7 separate regions of the Homo sapiens genome follow, and all the other regions are linked to region 1. The links are contacts of gene promoters, found by promoter capture Hi-C in blood cells and fetal thymus (Javierre and others, 2016). All regions are on one chromosome and are shown on one strand. Each heading gives the region's core, a stretch centred on a gene start or on the middle of the fragment in contact. The rest is flanking DNA. Distances are from core to core; before and after follow the strand shown.

What was found. The method cuts DNA at HindIII sites, captures the fragments that hold promoters and counts their contacts. A CHiCAGO score of 5 or more calls a contact.
Region 2: a contact is called between a fragment that was not itself captured here and the fragment with the promoter of PLXDC2 in region 1, in 4 of 17 cell types (neutrophils, M0 macrophages, monocytes and 1 more). The highest score is 6.3, in neutrophils.
Region 3: a fragment that was not itself captured here is called in contact with the fragment with the promoter of PLXDC2 in region 1 in 2 of 17 cell types (M2 macrophages and M0 macrophages); the score reaches 7.8 in M2 macrophages.
Region 4: a fragment that was not itself captured here is called in contact with the fragment with the promoter of PLXDC2 in region 1 in 2 of 17 cell types (M2 macrophages and neutrophils); the score reaches 7.3 in M2 macrophages.
Region 5: a fragment that was not itself captured here is called in contact with the fragment with the promoter of PLXDC2 in region 1 in 4 of 17 cell types (M2 macrophages, neutrophils, monocytes and 1 more); the score reaches 7.9 in M2 macrophages.
Region 6: a contact is called between a fragment that was not itself captured here and the fragment with the promoter of PLXDC2 in region 1, in 1 of 17 cell types (M2 macrophages). The highest score is 5.3, in M2 macrophages.
Region 7: a contact is called between a fragment that was not itself captured here and the fragment with the promoter of PLXDC2 in region 1, in 2 of 17 cell types (M2 macrophages and monocytes). The highest score is 6.6, in M2 macrophages.

Annotation. Positions count from the first base shown.
Region 1 is chr10:19,814,991-19,817,834 of GRCh38, reverse strand. PLXDC2 (plexin domain containing 2) reads right to left here and starts at 1,403. Exons shown (of 14, transcript NM_032812.9): 1 at 644-1,403. The coding sequence starts at 755. LOC124902388 (a long non-coding RNA gene) reads left to right here and starts at 1,607. Exons shown (of 2, transcript XR_007062078.1): 1 at 1,607-2,844. RefSeq lists an enhancer at 1,714-2,479. The HindIII fragment of the contact is 8,470 bases long and covers 354-2,844 here.
Region 2 is chr10:20,205,702-20,208,545 of GRCh38, reverse strand. All of the region lies in intron 9 of PLXDC2 (plexin domain containing 2), which reads right to left. Among named protein-coding and RNA genes, the nearest start is that of MIR4675, 340 kb to the left of the region's middle. The HindIII fragment of the contact is 1,505 bases long and covers 747-2,251 here.
Region 3 is chr10:20,186,770-20,189,613 of GRCh38, reverse strand. All of the region lies in intron 9 of PLXDC2 (plexin domain containing 2), which reads right to left. Among named protein-coding and RNA genes, the nearest start is that of MIR4675, 360 kb to the left of the region's middle. The HindIII fragment of the contact is 1,157 bases long and covers 866-2,022 here.
Region 4 is chr10:20,166,942-20,169,785 of GRCh38, reverse strand. The region is part of intron 7 of PLXDC2 (plexin domain containing 2); the gene reads right to left. Among named protein-coding and RNA genes, the nearest start is that of PLXDC2, 350 kb to the right of the region's middle. The HindIII fragment of the contact is 4,412 bases long and covers 1-2,844 here.
Region 5 is chr10:20,149,225-20,152,068 of GRCh38, reverse strand. The region is part of intron 6 of PLXDC2 (plexin domain containing 2); the gene reads right to left. Among named protein-coding and RNA genes, the nearest start is that of PLXDC2, 330 kb to the right of the region's middle. The HindIII fragment of the contact is 5,641 bases long and covers 1-2,844 here.
Region 6 is chr10:20,129,869-20,132,712 of GRCh38, reverse strand. The region is part of intron 4 of PLXDC2 (plexin domain containing 2); the gene reads right to left. Among named protein-coding and RNA genes, the nearest start is that of PLXDC2, 310 kb to the right of the region's middle. The HindIII fragment of the contact is 1,306 bases long and covers 823-2,128 here.
Region 7 is chr10:20,074,136-20,076,979 of GRCh38, reverse strand. All of the region lies in intron 4 of PLXDC2 (plexin domain containing 2), which reads right to left. Among named protein-coding and RNA genes, the nearest start is that of PLXDC2, 260 kb to the right of the region's middle. The HindIII fragment of the contact is 4,019 bases long and covers 1-2,844 here.

The sequences.
Region 1 (2,844 bases), core at 154-2,653:
GGCAGGCGGAGGACAATGGGAGCAGGGGTAGGTCTCCAGAGGCGAGCCCGCCTCCACCTTTCCCACCTGCTCCCCACCTCTGCGCCGGCCGCATTTACCCCGCCCCCCTTCCAGCGCCCGCTTGGCCCAGGTCACTAGACGGAGCTAGTGGGGATCGCCAGGGGAAGGAAGGTGCTGCCACAGGGAATTTTCTCGTGCAGAGGGGAGACCTGCAATCCCTGGCTTTCACAACGTCCCCCACCCACCCCATACCACACACGCTTAGTTTAACCAGCAGCGAGGAAGGAGGAGGAGCCGGAGAGCACACAGCCTGGAGATGCCAGGTCCTAGGAGATGTATCCACGGAAGAAGCTTTGCTCTCACACTGAAGCCCTCCCTGGGCTACTTTGGGGAGACAGTACCACCCCCTGCCGCCCAGGTGAAGTAAGCCCGAAAGCCTCAAGAAAACCCCTAGTCCCCGGCGTCCTTCTCTTGATAACCCTCTTTCCCCATTTGGGAAGCCTAAGTTTAGCCGAAAAGCAACTGCAATAAGTTTCCCAAGGGCAGATAGGTGATGTTGGGGGGAGAGGGTAGGGAGCACGAGAGTGCCAGAGAGGTCTTCAGCTGCGCACAAAATCAGCAAGCTAAAGTGCATCTTACTTACCAAGGATTTGGTCTCCGGGTTTCCCATCGGCGAACTGAAACTGGTCCGTGAAGAAGTGGCAAAGTAACATAACTCCTGCAGCGGCCAGGTCGGCCTTCGGGAACCTCGCCATGCCGCCGCCGCCACCTCCCTACCCCACCCGCCAGTCCTTCGCCGGTGCTCGGGGGCTCCCGATGCAATAGGCACGACCGGGCCAAACGCTGCGGATCGGTCTCGGTAGGACCCGGAGGCCTTTGTAAATGTCGCTGCGATTTCACAGTAGGGAACCGAGAAGAGGAAGAAGCGAACGCGAGTAGGAGCGCAGCGCTCTTCGGACCTCTGAGGCTCTCTTTGCAACTTGCCACACTCGCAGCCCTCACCCGACACTGAACAACAACCGCGGGGAGGAGAGGCCACTTGCAGCCGAGGCTCGCAAACTGTCGGTTCCACTCGGGCAGCGCCAACCCGGTGCCCGCGGACGGTGACTTCCGAGCCCCAGCGATGCGCTCCACTGGGTTCAAAACAGATCTAATTCCACAGCCAGCGCCGCTGCCTGCCCCAGATCCACTAGGGCTGGTCGGCTCTGCAGGAACTTTCCTCTGTCTAGGGATGGCCCCGGCAGGAGGTTTAGGTTTGCGGGAAGGAGGTTGATGACGAAACCCTCCCGACAAGTTTTGCTTCTTTTCTTCGCCCGACGCAGGGCGCGCGTCCTTTCTCGCAGCCGGAGGAATGGGCAGCTCCAAAGAGCTGAGCCCTGGGAAGGTTAGGGCTGCAGCAGTCTGAGGTCCGAAGCCAGGAAAAAAATGTGTTTAAAAAAAAAAAAAAAAAAGAGGAAGAAGAAAGGAAAAGGGTGGAGTGGGAGGGAGTCACGCTGGAACCTATCGGGAGAGGGTTCCTCCGGGCTCAGGAGGAGGTGGCCCCAAGCCCCCGCGGAGCCCCAGGAGTTTGGTGGCGGAGGAGGCGCTGCCGTCGCCACGCTCCCCCGCGCTCCTTCTCCACACTTTGAGGAGGGAAGGCAGCTCGCAATTTGCCAGATCTGCCGCCGCACCCTCCTCCCTCCTCCCTCCGCCCTCCCCTTCGCTCCTCCAGGCTTCTCCCACCTTCCTCCCTGAAACCGGCAGCCCGCACAGACCTGTCCAATGGCTGCACTTTCCTCGGGGCTGGCTGAGGAGTCGCGGCCAACAGATTAAGCCGGGGGAGCCTAGCGAAGGGGAGGGAGAGGGCCACTCCAGCCCCGTGCGCCCCAGGCAGCCGGCTGCCCCAGAGCGCGGGGAGAGGGGACAGGCCGGGGAGCTATCGGGGGAGCGCGGGGCGGTACCTCCGCGCCGCCGGGGCGCCATCCTCGCAGCCTGCTCGCACGCCCTGGGCAGCTCCGCCAACTGCGCCCCACACCCACCTGGCTCCCGGGCCGCCTTCGCGCCCGACTGCGGGGGGCGATCGCGCCCCGCCCCGACCCTGGCGGGGTCTCCCTGGGCACGAAAGGGTTAACCACAGCTCGCCCCTTCGCGGAGGCTGGTTCTGGTAGTGGCTAGGGAGTGGAGAAAGCAAACCAGAGCCGGTTCGGTTACCGACTCTGCGAAGCCCCCTCGACCCCAGCCCAGCGCGGGAGGGTGGCGGAAGGTGGTGCACCGCAGCGTGGTCCCCGCCGCTGCCGCCGCGGCTTTGCAAAGTGTCAGCGGGGGCGAAAGCGAGAGTTTAAAGGAACAGGAGGCCCATTGAATTTCCTACCGGAGCTTTCAGGGGCTCTGGCTCCCCAGTTTGTTTTTGTTTTTTCAGCTCGGGGATCTGTTTCCGCGTTAACCCTTGCCGGCCCTCTCGTTAGTTGATATCTTATTTTGCATACAGTTAATCATTTTTGAAAGGGATAAATACAAGGAAAAGAAGCAAAGCGCTATTGGTTAAAAGTACAGGATCTAGAGCCCGGACAGCCTGGGCTGGAATTTCACCTCCCCCGCAATGAGCAGTTTATCTCCTAGCCTCAGTTATCCATCCATCAAATGGAGAGAATTAGAGTAACGCCCTTATAAGGTGGTTGCAATGGATTGGATGAGTTAACTGTATATTTAATAAATATAGAACATTGCCTACCGCAAAGTACATGGCTTTGTTTAAGTGTTTACTGAAGCAAAAGTGAGAGAAGACGACTTCAATCACATAATAAATGTGCATGTGTTCTAAGTTCAAGGTCCTTTCCACTCCAAGCTCTGAAGAGTCTATGGATG
Region 2 (2,844 bases), core at 250-2,749, 390 kb before region 1:
ACATATAAACATATATGATATACTTTGGCTGTGTCCCCACACAAATCTCATCTTGAATTTCAGCTCCCATAATTTCCCTGTGTTGTGGGAGGGACCCAGTGGGAGATAATCTAATCATAGGGGCAGTTTCCCCCATACTGTTCTCATGGTAGTAAATAAGTCTCACAAGATCTGATGGCTTTATATGGGGTTTCCCCTTTTGCCTGGCTCTCATTCTTTCTTGTCTGCACCATGTAAGATGTGTCTTTTGCCTTCCACCATGATTGTGAGGCCTCCCTAGCCATGGGAAATTGTGAGTCCATTAAATGTCTTTTTCTTTATAAATTACCCAGTCTAAGATATGTCTTTATCAGAAGTGTGAAAAATGGACTAATACAATATATCTATATATAATATACAAAAATCCATGTTAATTATATTACTCTAAATAGATATCTATATATTTTTCAAAATAAATGGAAGCTGTTCAACTTTTGCCTTATATTTTCTTACAGTGCTCAAAGCATTACTTTGCAATCTTTCTTTTTTTTATTATTTTTAACTTGTTTTGCAATGAGTCCACATGATAGCTCTTTCTAAGAACCCTTGCCAGAGATTATGCACCATGGGATGAACAAGTATAATTTAATTCAAGTGGAATGTGAAAACAACCCTCCTGTCAACACAGAAGACAATCTCTCATTCTCTCAGGGCATGATCCATTGAAGTTAAGCTATTTTATGCCTACCATCTGTGTTGAACAAGCTTAAGTGTGGAGTAAACATCAGTGTGGGATTTGGCATCCTAAATTTGAGAATCCCCAGTTGGTCAAGGCCATCTCTGCTTACCCAATGAGATTTTGATGTGTGGAGTCTATTTAATTCCAGATGAGTTAGATGAGTGCTCCCTCCTATATTTTCCTTTTGAGTTTGTTTAAACATTGAAGAATGTACTGACATTCTGTTTTGGAAGATGGGGATGTATCAATTTTCTACAGAAGAAAAAAACATTTTCTTGGGAGCCACCTGACCATAACCATAAGTAATTCAATGGAACAGATCGTTCTTAAAGCACGGTTTGTTTTCACTTATTCTGTTTCAAATGTATCCAAAGCCAATGGGATGTACAAACTTTTACCTTATATTTTAACAAGACGGTGCCAAATCTTAAATTTGCATATCAACTGAAATTTTACCTTGGAATAATTAGTCCTTTAAATTATTAAATTAATCCCAGGGAAAAGTGCAGAAATGCAGTTTGTTTGATTTATTAATTAATCCCCCAATTATGTTGTGTGAAATTAAGTTTTACTGAAAATATAAATCAATTAAGTAATTCATCATTTATTTAAGACAAGAATTTCTTATTAATTGAAATTTACTAAGGGCTAGAATGGAAAGGACTGAGAATGGCAAAACAAGTGAGATTTGGTTTGAAAAGCTCATACTTTTTGTGGCATATAGTGCCTTAAAAATGAATAAAACTGGATCCAGCCATTTTAGCATTTTTTAGAGGCCAGTAATCTAAATGGCATCGAAAAGCAATTATAAGCACAAGAATGTGTGTGTGAGAGACAGTTGTATAAACCACTAGGAAAAGACACCTTGATATTATTTCTGAATTCTAAATAAACCAAAATCACTTTTGAGAACAGCTTCCTGTCCCCACTGAGGTGCTGTGTGTGTGTGTGTCTGTGTGTGTGTGTGTGTGTGTGTGTTTCAAAGCACAATGACATTAACCATATCACTATCCAGCACATTGTTTTCCAACATTTTTAACGGTGATTCACAAAGAGGCTCTCCCACATTGGAATTACCTGAGATGCCTGTCCAAATGCAAATTCATAGGTCTAACTGAGTAAGATTCTCTGGCAATTGGAACTCAGCAATTTTTATTGTAAATAAACACCTTCAGGGGATTCTTACCACTCTGACCTCCTCTACAATATATTCAGGCCTCTTGCTCACTCCTGTAGCCCATGCTCTACAACCCATTCATACCCTCCTTTTGCTCTAAGCACAGCAAATTCTTTTCCCTTCCCCGAAGGTGCTGTGCTCTTTCATGACTCTACCTTTGAACACACTATTACATACGGCTGGCCTACCCAACTGGCAAACCCAATCCAAATCAACCCCAATCTCCTCCAAGAAATAGCTCCTTCTCCTTCCACCCAGCAGATTCAGCAACCCTTGCTCAGAGACCCCCCAACACCAAGTGCAAATGTCCACTATTATACTACAATTGGCTGCTTTTGAGTTTATCTTACAAAGCTTTCAGGAGAACATGATTAAAAGTGAGGCTTTGGAATCCAATTGTTTGAGTTAGTATTTTGGCTTGGTCACAAAAAAGGTGTGTGATCTTAGATAAGTTATTTTTCTTTTTTTTTGAATGATTGTATTGCATGTTGACATATTATAATTGTATACATTTATGAGGTACAGTGTGATATTATGATATATGTATGTAATGTGAAAAGATTACATAAAGCTAATTAATATAGCCGTCATCTCAGATACTGATCTTTTTGTGATAAGAACATTTGACATTTACCGTCTAAGCAATTTTGAAACATAAACTACACTATATATACAATATAGTCATTATATGCAATATATAATAGATAGGTACAGCAAAAATACACAAAAATACAAAAGATACAATATGCTATACTCACTGTGTTGTGCAATATATCTCAAGAAACTTATTCCTCCTAACTGAAATGTTGTACTCTTATTTTCCCTTTCTAAGCCTGTTTCCTCATCTGTAAGATGAGGTGGGGGAGGTTATATAAGGATTAAAAGTTCAGTATTTGTCTAGTAAAGATTAAGTAACTGTTAGCTTGTTTAATACCTAATTATACCTTTG
Region 3 (2,844 bases), core at 195-2,694, 370 kb before region 1:
TTCTGAGTGCCCAAATTGCCCTAATAAACTTTTATATATATGTGTATATATATATATGTGTGTGTGTGTGTATATATATGTGTGTGTATATATATGTGTGTGTATGTGTATATATATATATATATATATATATATATGGCCTACCTTTCTTTTAAAAAGTGTGTTCCTTTGTTTATCGATGGTTTTATTATACACAATATGTGTGTGTGGTAAAAATTCAAATCTTTCAAAGATCTGATTATGATGAAATGGTAATACGTATTTCTCTTTATGCCAGTTTCCAATTCATGACAGGTTCTCCAAAGGGAAGCCCTGTTATTAGTACCTTATGTATTTTTTTCAAAAGCATTATTTACATCAAAATATATTTCAAAATGCTTTTATGTTATGGATAAAATAACATCATACCTCACTGTATTATTATATTTAATCCACACAAAAATAATTAGTACACTTTTGTTAAACTCAGGTTTGGAAGGCTTAAAAGGAGGTAAAAATAAACTTTTACTTTGCATTCTTAAAAGACAATCTTGTTTATGCTATATTTCAGGACAAGCAGCTTAATAGAAAAGCGAAGATTCTTCATTAAAATTTGAAAAAAAAAACTGATTATAAAAGGTCTTGTACTAAAATAAATTCAAAGTTCAATTTATCTCTTATAGCATTGTAAGCTAAAAACAACCATCTTAGTTGTATGGCATTTTTAGAACCTCCTTAAATTTCTTTAAAACACTGATTACCACTTGGATAGCAATAATTTAATATCAACTCAGAACTAAAGAAAGTTCCAATCTTTTTAACTAGTTCACAACATTCTAAAATCTTCTGATTTATTTATCATATACACTACACTTATTCAAAAGCTTCTTACTTTCTTTTATCAGGCTCAACTTCATTAGCTCTTAATATGTTTTAATAATAAATATATCTACAGATTTTTTCTATAATATTTCTCAGTTCCATATTAAGGATGAATAAGTGCTTCCATACAACTTAGGCAAAATCACTGCAGCTTCCAGGCCCCTTAGCTCAGACATACAAGATCAGCATTTCTACTGCCCTAGTCCTAGACTACCTCAGCATTCCCCAAAAAGGCTTATTAAAAAGCCAAATCCCTGGGATCCACTTTGGACCTACTGAATATGAATCTTTAGTGAGCTGTAGAGCAATCTGCATCTTGACAAAATTCTGTGCCAATTCTTAACTGTATTAATATTAATATTATGCTGTGAAATAAGCCAGACACAGAAAGATGAGTACCGCATGTTCTCACACACATGGAAGCTAAAAATGTTGATTTCATAGAAGTAGAGAATAGGATAATGGCTACTAGGGGTAAGAAAGGATGGGGAAAGGGGGAGATACTGAAAAGTTTGTTAATGAATACAAAGTACAGCCCGATAGAAGGAATAAGTTCTAGTGTTCTATTTTTGGGCAATTAACTTTTAACTATTTTAATATATATTTAATAACACATATTTAGTATATATTTAATAACATTCACATTTATTTACACTTATATGAGTTGGGGGGAAACGAGTCAAATATCCTTTTATTATCACTGGATGAACAGCATCTATTATGTACTTCTCTATGAAATATATATTTAATTGAGTATTGAATATAAAAAGAACTTTAGATTAACAGTTTTCTATTGAAATGGCTGATATGATGGTAAATGAGAACACTTTTCAAAAATAGTTTACAGTTTAGTTATTTGTTTTGTGGGGAACGTAATGTTAAAATATAGAAAGACATTTAAAATACATGTTTACACTCAACCCAGCTCTTTTAATATTTCTGTAAGAAAATTATGAAAGTGTCATCGAGATCGATTCTGATTTTTCACTTTTGTTAAAAGCTATCCCCCAGAAAAGTGAAAAGATGACTATTTTACATTTCTTAATAGGAACATCCTAATTAAGATTTTGATGATGTTTTCTAAAAGCTAAAGCATTTATTTTCTATCCATTTCTGAGTCAGACATGCAGCCTTACCCATTAAGAAGACCTGCAAAAAGCTTTGAAGTAAATTATGTGCTAGGAATTACAGTTATGTCAATAACTGTAATTAACAATTTATTGTATATTTTCAAATATACAATAGAAGAGCAGATTTTAAACGTTCCTAACACCAAGACATACTAAATGTTTAAGGTGATTGATATGTTAATTATATTGATTTGATCATTATACATTGTATACCTGTATTAAAATATCACACTGTACCCTATAAATGTGTATAATTGTTATGTCAATTAAAGATAATAAAAGCAAAAAGATCTACAAAAAAGAAATTTTGAGAACTACTGAAATTGGGTCCATTCAGCTTTAAGGAATATCAGAATCTGATATATCTAGAGGCCAGATGTATTTTCCATTCTGGGATACAGAGTAAGCAGGCTTTATTGCTTTGTTCAAGGTGAGATTGTTTATTGCTGGCTGTGCCACTAGGTATCCAACCAGACATTTCCACGTAATTCACCTAAGGTCATAAAATATGGCCTCCTTTCCCATAGTATTCTTGGGATTTTTTTTTGAATCTTTTGAATAACTCAGGAATGCTTCCTCAACTTTTGAATGCTCCTCAACCTCAGGTACCCGGCAGCTGAGTACCTCCTGACACAGAAAGCCAAATACACTTACTATAGAATACACCATTTGACCCTGCAATCCCATTACTGGGTATATACCCAAAGGAATATAAATCCTACTAGAATAAAGATACATGCACACATATATTCATTGCAGCACTATTCACAATAGCAAAGACGTGAAATCAATGTAAATGCCCATCAATGGTAGACTGGATAAAGAAAACATGGTACATATACATGATGGAATA
Region 4 (2,844 bases), core at 156-2,655, 350 kb before region 1:
TGGGAGTGTTAACGTAACTTTCTCTTTACTTAAGTGGCATGGCCTTATCTGTTCCAAATTAAAGAACCACATGGCATGAGTGGATTTTCTGAGTTTCTTGCTAGAAGGATTAAGCTCATTAAGCTCGGAAAGTAGAGAAACAGTGAGGCCCGATGGGATAAGTCAGCACCCCACAGATGATGATTGAAATTCAAAATGTTACATTGGAGGAGAGAGAAACAAATTAGTGCAAATGGCACTAGTGAGAATCGTGCGTGTATCCAGGAAGACCTCTGCATGTTGTGTAAGGATTTGGAAGGACATAAGCTGAGGCTGAGAAAGAATTACTTAATAGAGCTATTTACCAAGAAATTATGGAAATTACAAACAACACATGAATATATGACGGTGTTAAAACTTTCTGGTAATCGAAAGACAACAATGAAATACCATTTCGTGCTTACCAAATTTGCAGAGTTAAAAATGAATATTAGAAAGCTCTTTGGGAAATGGGATATTTCTAATATAACAATGGGTAGTAAACTGGTACAACCTTGATGGAAAGCAATTTGTCAAAATACATTCAAAACAATATTAACATTCAGTATCCACAAATTCACTTTTTGAGAATCAGATACATGCAAAAATTTAGAAACAAGGACGTTTAGCACCATTTTACTGATAATATGCGATGCAAACTATGTAACCAACCTCTTTAGTGACAGGTTACATAAATTATGAAACAGATAAATTTCTTATAACTATTAATGACCACATTTTAGACAGATATTTAACAGTGTAAAAAATATGTTTTATATATGAAGGTGAAAACAGGGGGCAGAATAATTTACAGCATAATGCCAATTTTCTTAATGTGGGTATCTTCATATATGTGTATATTACAAATAAATAGTTGGATACAGATACGTGAAAACATTTATTACTATTTCTCTGTAGTAGATTTCTAAGTAATTTAAATTTTCCTCCTTGGGTTTCCTGTTAATTTATAAATTACTCAGAATTATAATGTGCTATGCTTCTAATCATAATAAGTATATTTTTACATTCATATTTCTGAAATGAACAACCAAAGTCAGTCCTGTACTTAGACCTGTTTTTCATAGCTGTACCTGTGGATGTTGAATTAGCTGATTTCTATGGTTCTTTCTGTTTCTAAAGATTTACAAATACATTTTATGAAAAACAGTGATTTCGAGACATACAGATGGACAGACAGGCAGACATAAGTCTTATGAAGAGACATAAAACAACACACATCAACATAGTCAGAAAGCACTGAAGTTCCAGAGACACACTGTCACTGTGTTTCTTAGTGGGAATCTCCTGTGGTTCCACTCTGAAGGGCACTCAGCTTTGGCAGTGACATCTAAGTTAGTATCGCTGTTTTTTAAAGTGATAACGATGATGGAAAAAACAGTAACTTTAAGTACAAGTGTACTACTTACTCTCTGCTAGGTAATGCATGCTGTGTACACATTGCATTTTTAGGTACTAAGATGCTCATTTTATATAGAAAGAAAGTTACAGAAATCAATTAAAAGTTTAATGTTTCATGACCAATAATCAAATGACAATATTCCTTATACTTGCTTTACTTTTAATTTCCACCTTTTTTAACATAAGTCTTAGTTTTACCATACTTTTCCCTCTCTTTTTGAGGGAGCAAAGGTATTTCTCTTGTAAACTCAGAAGGATTTATCAATTTACTAACAATGCCTGAATTCCCTTTGATATTGAAACTATCAGATCACCTGATCTTTTATGAAAGAAAATAAAGCTACTTTAATTAATCATGCTTGAAATTTACATTGAAATCATTTACTATTTGGGGGTCTTCAAAAACTGAAAAACAAGTGTTTTGTTGTTGATGTGAGGAAGAATGAATAGGGAGAAATTTTAATAATAAATAAATTAAAATTGCTTTACAGCATTTTGAATGCTTTACCAAATCTTCACCAAATCTGATAAGAATGATATAGTAATGGTGATCTACTGGGAAATACTATTTTCCAGGCTTGAGCTCACATTCCCATGTTCCCATGGCTACATGAAGCCAAAGGTTTAGGTAATATAACCTATGTAACTAAAATGATTAATAGAATAGAAAACTGATCTTATGAGAACAGGGTTCTATGTAACACACCTTGGAATACAGAAGAAATGAAACTACTCACTACTTAGAATAATAATCAGTTGTTCCCTAAATCCACTTGGTGGGGGTAAAAAAGTTAACAGAGGCAAAGTATTTAAATTCCCTACAAAGACAATTCCTAATAGTGAGTGTTGCTAAATAAGGGAACTGAATTTTGAAAAGGACTTAATATCGGTCTAAATTCTGATTGTTGAATATGTAACATAGGTCTGTAGGAATCAACTTATTTCTCACAAAAGAACTGTACTTGTATAACTTGCATTGTGCTAATCTTGGGTTATCCTAATCTCTGGCATAAAGATGCACTTTCTGTTAGCTGAGAATACAATGCAACCGTGTATCTCTTGTTATACAGAAGCTCATGCAACAGACACAGTTATACTTTATAAATGTGGGAGAGACTTTTAAGGAGATAAAATTTTGTGTTCCCAAAATGATTTTTAAGTAGAACATATTGATTCTAATTTTCTTGCATAAATATAGTCGCATCTAACAGCAACAATGGCAGAACTCGAGACCCAAATCTTTCATTCCTTCTTGGCTAATTTTCTCAGGATGGAACAGTAAGGTTAACAGAAAATGTGACTGCTTTTCCAGTATGCAAATTGTGTGAGGGACATTTTTCTCTGAATTCTACGTTTGAATTAAGTTCTTTTAGATAACTGCTGAGTCCCAAACTTTAGACATAATCT
Region 5 (2,844 bases), core at 157-2,656, 330 kb before region 1:
ACTAAGATAAATTGAATGAGGGCATTGAAAATGAAATTTACTTAACTAAATTTATTCAATCCATTACTAATTTTAATGTAAAATTTAATGGTAATTAAAATTTACAATTTTAAAACAAGCCCCAAATTGGTGGTGGGTTTTGTGTAAATCAGAATTTTTCTTCTCATTCACATAAAACATAATGAAACAAAACAAAGCTGGTGTTAGCCTATTAGAAGAAACTTATTACAGAAAGAATTACACGTACTTCCCTATGTATAATTTGGCAAGTTTAGCTTGGACAGGAACAGAAAATTTTACTCCTTGTAATTATATGCTCTTAGAATTTGGTTAGTTCTGCAAATGAAGTAGGAATACCTCTCTTATCTATACTTGTAATTGTGTGATATGACAAGTCTAATAAGCAAGATTGTTAAACAGCCAATATTAAGAAACGCTTATTGGAAAGACAAATGAGACATAGATTTGTGAATTGTTTTACATAATCTCTTTAGGCAGAGAAAATGGTTGAGATGTCTTGGGATCATCAAATTAAATTCTGGATTTATTCTTAACTAGCTCTGTGACCTCAAGTATGTCATTTAATCTCTCTGACTTACCCTGCTCAGCTATAAAATGAAGATAATCATGTATGATCTATTTCCAAAATTAAGTCATAAACATTTATTGAACAGCTTCTATGTACCACCGCTATTGTAAAATACTTAGGATATTAAAGCTGTAGGAAACTATTGAGGAATTAAATGCTATAATGCATGTGAAAGTACTTTGTAAGTGGTAATACATTACGCAAACTACTATTTTATGCTATCATGTGATTAGGAATATTTTTCCAGCAGTGCCAGGAGCTTCTAGCTCTCACCTCAAATGCAAGGGGACTCTCTTACGACAAATTTTACAAATAACAATTTGCCTTAGCAAAATAAAATACATAACAATTATTGGGAAGCAAAAAGTGGTAGACTAGAAAAGTAGAAACTGCTTTGTATCGAGAACAAAGAAAGAACAGAAAGGCAAATAATAAAGTAAAGTAAATAATAAAGTAAAAATGACTTCTTTGAACTCCAAGTGCAGAGGGAAGACATTCTTCAGGACAAGAGCCTGGGAATATCAAGAAAACATTAAATTTGCCTGTCATCTTGAAATTCCCCATAACAAAACAGGAAAACCATAGTGGAACTTTTTTCTTTGATTAAAATGAAGAAAAGAAAAGGCCTTTAAAAATACCAACCAAGAACAGAGAAAAGGAAGAATTCTGCAATGTGAGACACCTTTGAGAACAGCGTAAAGAAAGATGACAATTTCAATAATAAAGACTAGCAAGCGAAGCCACAATAAGAACACAAATTTCTGTTTTGACAAAGCCTCCAGGTGGTGAGACCTAAGTCTCCAAACTTACTGACCTTGCGTCTTTACAGAGACTTGACCAGTGTTGGTTCAAACCGTTGAAAATGAACATTGCAAAACGTCACTGTGCAGTTACAGCAATATACTAGATTGCAATGAAAACTAGAAATGAATAAGTCCTTTTGAGAACTATTCTCTCAGCTTCCAGGGAGTGTGACATAAAAATATAGTGGGCTCTGATATAAAAACACAGCCCTGATGTTATTTCTTTGAGGAATCGCCACACTGCTTTCCCCAGTAGCTGAACTAATTTACACTCCCACCAGCAGTGTATAAGCATTCCCTTTTCTCCACAACCTCACCAGTAAAACTACATTCAGGCCAGCAATCCCATTACTGGGTATATAACCAAAGGAATGTAAATCCATGTAACCAAACACCACCTATTTCCCCAAAACCTATTGAAACAAAAAACTGGGTAGAACAAAGAAAATTTTTAGGGCAGGGAAGATTCTGTAGGACACCATAATGATGGATGCATGACATTATACATCCTTAAAACCCTTAGAAAGTACAGCATCAAGAGGGAACTCTAATCTAAGAACTCTGAGTGACATTGATGTGTCAATGTCAATGTAGGTTCATCTATTGCAACAAATGTACCATTCTGGTGGGGTATGTCGATGATGGGGGAGGATGTTCAGCAGGACAAGAAGAGTATGTTCAAACTCTGTGTATTTTCTGCATCATTTTCTGTGAATCTAAAACTACTCTAAAAAAGTAAACTCTATTAATTAAAAGAATAAGTAAATCATTCTGCCACACAGACACATACATATGTATGTTAATTGCAGCACTATTTATAATAGCAAGGACATGGAATCAACCTAAATGCCCACCAATGATAGACTGGATAAAGAAAACCAGGTACATATACACCATGGAATACTATGAGGCCATAAAAGAAATGAGATCATGTCTTCTGTAGGGACCTGGATGGAGCTGGAGGCCATTATCCTTAGCAAACTAATGCAGGAATGGAAAACCAAATACCAAATGTTCTCACTTATAAGTGGGAGCTAAATGATGAGAATGCATGGGCCAAAGAAGGGAACAACAGACACTGGGGCCTACTTGAGAGTGGAAGGTGAGAGGAGGGAGAAGATCAGAAAAAATAACTATCGGCCGGGCGCAGTGGCTCACGCCTGTAATCCCAGCACTTTGGGAGGCCGAGGCAGGAGGATCACCTGAGGTAGGGCGTTCAAGACCAGCCTGATCAACATGGAGAAACCCCGTCTCTACTAAAAATACAAAAATTAGCTGGGCATGGTGGTGCATGCCTGTAATCCCAGTTACTTGGGAGGCTGAGGCAGGAGAATCGCTTGTACCCAGAAGGCAGAGGTTATGGTGAGGCAAGATCTGGCCATTGCACTCCAGCCTGGGCAACAAGAGTGAAACTCCAACTCAAAAAAAAAAAAAAAAAAAAAAAAAAGAAAA
Region 6 (2,844 bases), core at 226-2,725, 310 kb before region 1:
ATGCTGAAAGTGAAAGGATGGAAAAAGATAGTCCCTGCAAAAATAGTCCAAAAGAGAGCAGGAGTAGCCGTAACTATATCAGACAAAAGAGATGTTAAATCAAAAACTGCCACAAGAGACAATGATAAAGATATCAATTCATCAAAAGGACATAAAATTGTAAATAGTTATGCCCTCAATATTAAGAACATAAATATATAAAGCAAATATTAAGAGAGCTAAAAGGAGAAATAGTTCACCAATACAATAATAGTAGAGGACTTCAATATTGCCACCTTCAGCAGTGGATAGGTCATCCAGACAAAAACAATCCATAAGTATACAGAAGACACGAACAAGACTGAAGACCAAATGAATTTAACAGAGATATATAGAACGTTTCATCCAACAGCAGCAGAATATACATTCTTTACAAATGCACATGGAATATTTGTTAGGATAGATCCACGTTAGGTCAAATAAAAGTCTTCACAGATTTAAGAAGATTTAAGTAATACCAAGTATCTTTTCAGACCACGATGAAATGAAATTAGAAATCAATAAGAGGAGGAAAATTGGAAGCATTTGCAAATATGTGAAAATTAAATAACATAGTTCTGAACAACCAATGAGTCAAAGAAGAAATCAATAGTGATCTTAAAAGATATCTTGAGACAAACAAAAATGCAAATATAACTTTCCAAATTTTATGGGATGCAGCAACAGCAGCCCTAAGGGGTAAGTTTATAGCAATAAATGCCTACATGAAGAAAAAAGAAAGATTTCATAAAAGCAACCTAATATGACACCTCAAGGAACAAGGAAACAAGAACAAACTAAGCTTAAGAAAGGATATAATAAAGAGTTAGCAGAAGGAAGGAAATAAAAAAGATCAGAATATATATGAATGATATAGGGACTAGAAAAAACAATACAAAAGATTAATGAAACTAGGAGTTGGGTTTTTTTTCTAAATAAACAAAAGAGTAACTTTTAGTTAAACTAAGAAAAAATAGAATAATAAAACTGTAAGTGGCCGGGTGCAGTGGCTCACGCCTGTAATCCCAGCACTTTGGGAGGCTGAGGCAGGTGGATCACCTGAGGTCAGGAGTTCAAGACCAGCCTGACCAATATGATGAAACCCTGTCTCTATTAAAAATACAAAAATTAGCTGGGCATGGTGGCATGTGCCCATAATTCCAGCTACTCGGGAGGCTGAGACAGGAGAATTGCTCGAACTCAGGAGGCGGAGGTTGCAGTGCACTGAGATTGCACCATTGCACTCCAGCCTGGGCAACAAGAGTGAAACTCTGTCTCAAAAAAGAAAAAAAATTATAAGTGAAAGAAGAGATTACAATTGATACCATATAAATATAAAATATCAGAAGAAACTACTATAAAAATTATATGCCAACAAATTCGATAACCTAGAAGCAGTGTATAAATTTCTGGAAACATACATATTACCACGTCGGAACAGAACAGTACAGAAACACTAAATAGAATAGAAAATATGGATAAAAGAAACCAGAACAAAAAACAGAATAGAAAATCTGAAAAAAAAAAAATAACAAGTAAAGAGACTTAATCAGTAATCAAAAACCTCCAAACAAAGAGATGCTCAGGACCTCATGGCTTTACTGGGGTAAATTCTACCAAACATTTAAAGGATATTTAACACCAATACTACTTAAAATCTTCCAAAAAATTTGAAGAGAAAGAAACACTTGCAAACTCTTTTCTCATGGCCAGCATTACCTGGATACCAAAGTCAGACGAAAACGTTACAATAAAAGAAAACTACAGGTCAATATCCCTGATGAATGTAGATGCAGAAATCCTTACCAAATAATAGAAAATCTAATTCAACAGCACATTAAAAGGATCACTACCCATGATCACATGGGTTTTATCCTTGTTTTAACATACACAAATCAATAAATGTGATATACTACATTAATAGAATGAAGATTAAAAATTATATGATCATCTCGATATATGCAAAAAAGCATTTGACAAAATTTAACATCCTTTCATGATAAAAACTCTCAACAAATTAGGTATAGATGGAATATAACTTAAAATAATAAAGAATATGTATGACAAGTCCACATATAGTATCACACTCAATGATAAAAAGCTAAAAGCTTCTCGGGATTAGTAACAAGATAAGGATACTCATTCTTGCCACTTCTATTCAATATAATATTAGAAGTTCTAGCCAGAGCAATTAATCAAGAAAAAAGAAATAAAAGACAAACCAGAAAGGAAGAAATAAAATTTTCTTTGCAGATGACATAATGCTCTATATACAAAACCCTTAAAACTCCTCCAAAAACCTGTTGGCATTAATAAACAAATTCAGTGAAAGTACAAGATACACAATAAACATGCGAAAATCAGTTGTGTTTCTATACACTAACAACAAACTATCCAAAATAGAAATTAACACTCTCACATACAATAGCACCAAAATTTAAAATATTTAGAAATAATTTTATCCAAAGAGATAAAAGATCCGTAAACTGAAGCATTGGTGAAAGAAAATTAAAGAAATCACAAATAAAAGGAATGATATCCTGTGATCATAGATGAGAAGAATTGAAAATTAAAAATATTAAACTTTCCATGTGACCCAAAGCAATCTACATATTAAATGCAATTCTTATCAAAATCCCAATGGCATTTTCAAAGAAAAAGAAAAAAAAAATCAAGAAATTCATATGGAACCACAAAAGGCCTGTAACTGCCAAAGCTATCTTGAGCAAGAAGAACAAAGCTGGAGGCATCACACTACCTGATTTCAAAATCTACTACAAAGCTACAGAAATCAAAACAGAATGGTTCTGGAATGAAAACAGTCAC
Region 7 (2,844 bases), core at 155-2,654, 260 kb before region 1:
AACCATGCTGTCACAATTAGAGAAATATTTCGAGATTCTATCGTGTGTTACAAAATTGCTAAATTTTGTAAGGTTTCCAGACAGTGTCCCAGAGTCCCAAAATGTCATCATGGGACAGTCTTTAGAGAGATTCTGAACAGCACCAAAAAATGATAGGTATAGCCATGGTGATCAAGCGGACATCCCAAGTTATTTACATGCTATTCTACTTCCCAGACATCAGTGGTTGAGCCAGCCTTTAATAGGAGCAGTTAGAGATGACAATGGATTAGGTTCCTAAACACTCCTTGAGACCCCTTCTATGCTTTATGGAGAGAAATCTAATGAATGAGGTCATCAAAGGAAACAACAGACAAACTAAAAAGGCAGCACAGGACTTAAAGAGAAAGCACTTTGAAAAGAAATAAAGGAGGAAATGTAAGTGGGGGAAAAATGCAGTATTAGCATATGCTATCTATGTAGCATTTTCTATGAAACAGGTATCATTAACATATGTTAATTAATTTAGTCATCACAACAAATTTATGCACCAGGTATTTTTATTGTGCTATTTTATAGGCAAGGAAACTGACATCAGAGAGATTAAGTCATTTGCTGAAGATCATACAGTTACGATTGCCTTGGCTTATGAACTGAAGTATTCAGATTCAAAAGTCTATTTATCTTAACCTGGAAGCCTAACTTCTTCTCTAAGAAAATGCAACTCAATTTCTGGCTTAAGTAGGAATTGAGGGAACTCTTTTGAACTCATTTCTGAAATGGCCAGGGTCTAATGTCAGTCCTGCACTATTTACTATTTCTTTCCTTTACTTTCCAGGATTCGACAATGTTAGAGCATCTGGCATATATTGTTACTTTATTAATTGCACAGAGTCACTTAGACACCCTTTATTTTCAATTGGGTGATGTATTTCAGGATCTGTGTAAAATTGCTATTTATCTGAATTACTGCTGCAGTGACTAGGAAAGGCTACAAGCAAAAATATCATTGCCAGTGTTTCCAATAAAGCCTGGATGTGCTGGAAGAAGATGAATGATGCTTTCCTGGTATAAACATCCGTAAGGGAGTATTCTAGCACTAGCAATCAGTGGACACTTCAGTGGCTGTTATGGCAATGGAAGGGGATGAGCCTGGAGACCATGTTTTTCACCCACACCCTTGTCTCAGCTGATCCACCTTCCCCCATTCCTGTCCTAAAATCATGACTTATCCATCATGTGCCAATGCTCTGCTCAGTTTTGTTTACATCTAATTGTTCTCCTTCATTCTACCCATATTTCTGTCTCTTGTATTTTTCTTGCTGATTCCTATTGAGTCAACTCTTGCTCCTGGGTGCTTTCTCTCTGGGTCTCCTACTGGCTTAATTTCCAATTATGCTTCCCACCCCTGCCACAAGGAGCCAGTGCTAATGAAATAAAGCATGTATGGACAGACATGCAGGAGAAACAAGTGGTTGTGAATATGAAATTCGTGAAAGACAAAACAACATAGCTTGGCGCAGTGTCTCACACCTGTAATCCCAGCACTTTTGGAGGCTGAGATGGGAGGATTGCTAGAGGCTAGGAGTTTGAGATCAGCCTGGACAACATAATGAGACTCCATCTCTACAAAAAAATCTAAAAATTGGCCAGGCATGGTGGTGCATGCCTGTAGTCCCAGCTATTTGGGGAGCTGAAGTGGGAGGATCACTTGAGCCTAGGAGGTCAAGGCTGCAGTGAGCTGTGATTGTGCCACTGCACTCCAGCTTGGGTGACAGAGTGAGATCCTGTCTACAAAATAAAGAAATAAATATATAATAATGGTCAAGCTACTGAATCTACTGCTGACACTAGACAGTTTGAGGGAGGAGTAAGTTATCAAAGAAGACAGCTCAGATGAACTCTCAGGTTTTTGGAGGTCTATCTCAGAGAATTATTCAGATTCAGCAGATCAGACATCACGCAATTCATCTTTCTCTCTAGGAATCCTTGAGACTTGAGTTTGTAACTTTAAATCATTGAAGCAAGTTGGAATGAATTTACTTTCATCCAGCATCTATCTCTTTAGTATCTTCCATAACACATAGATCTCCAGATTACCATAACCTGTGATCTCTGTTAATAATAATAATAATACAAAACAACTCCATTCACCTTCTCCCTAGATGCAGAAAGTTAATGGATACACCATGCTTTGTTTTATGGGGTTATACACTTGAAAGAAGATGTTGTTGGTATTTACAAATCAATCATCATGAGTAATAACTATCTTCCTCTCCTAAAAAGCCTTTTATTCCTGTTATTAATCAAGTCCCTATAAAGAGTATGAAATATTATTTGGGACTACAATTAAAATATTACCATTTGAAAGCCAGAACAAAAAAGGAGCAGGGAGATTTGGTAATATATTTCCTGAAAAGCTAATGAAGATAAAATGCATTAATATTTTTAAAAAATCTCTCTTAGTGGGAATTTAAACAGAAAAAAAGCTAATGATTATTGGCCAGATATAGGAAACTACTCTAAGTTTGAATTTTAATATACCATACCTCAAAAAGTAAGGTATTTTTTTTTGGGAGGGAAACTGGTGAACTAAGAGACAAAGGAAGAAGGGAGATTTACATTTTACTTTTGCCTGTTTGACTTGTTAAATGTCCACGTTATTAGTTTTTCAGATATGTACAGGTATTACTTAATAAACATTTTAATCTTTTACGTAGCAAATGAAATAAAATAGAGCTAAAATTTAAACAGCTTTCTTATGAAATCTGTAAGTAGAAACCTGTGTAGAAAGGGAAGGCAAATTCTTCCTATGATCAAGGTAAGTAATACACATTCATTATTAGCTTTTAAATTCATATCACC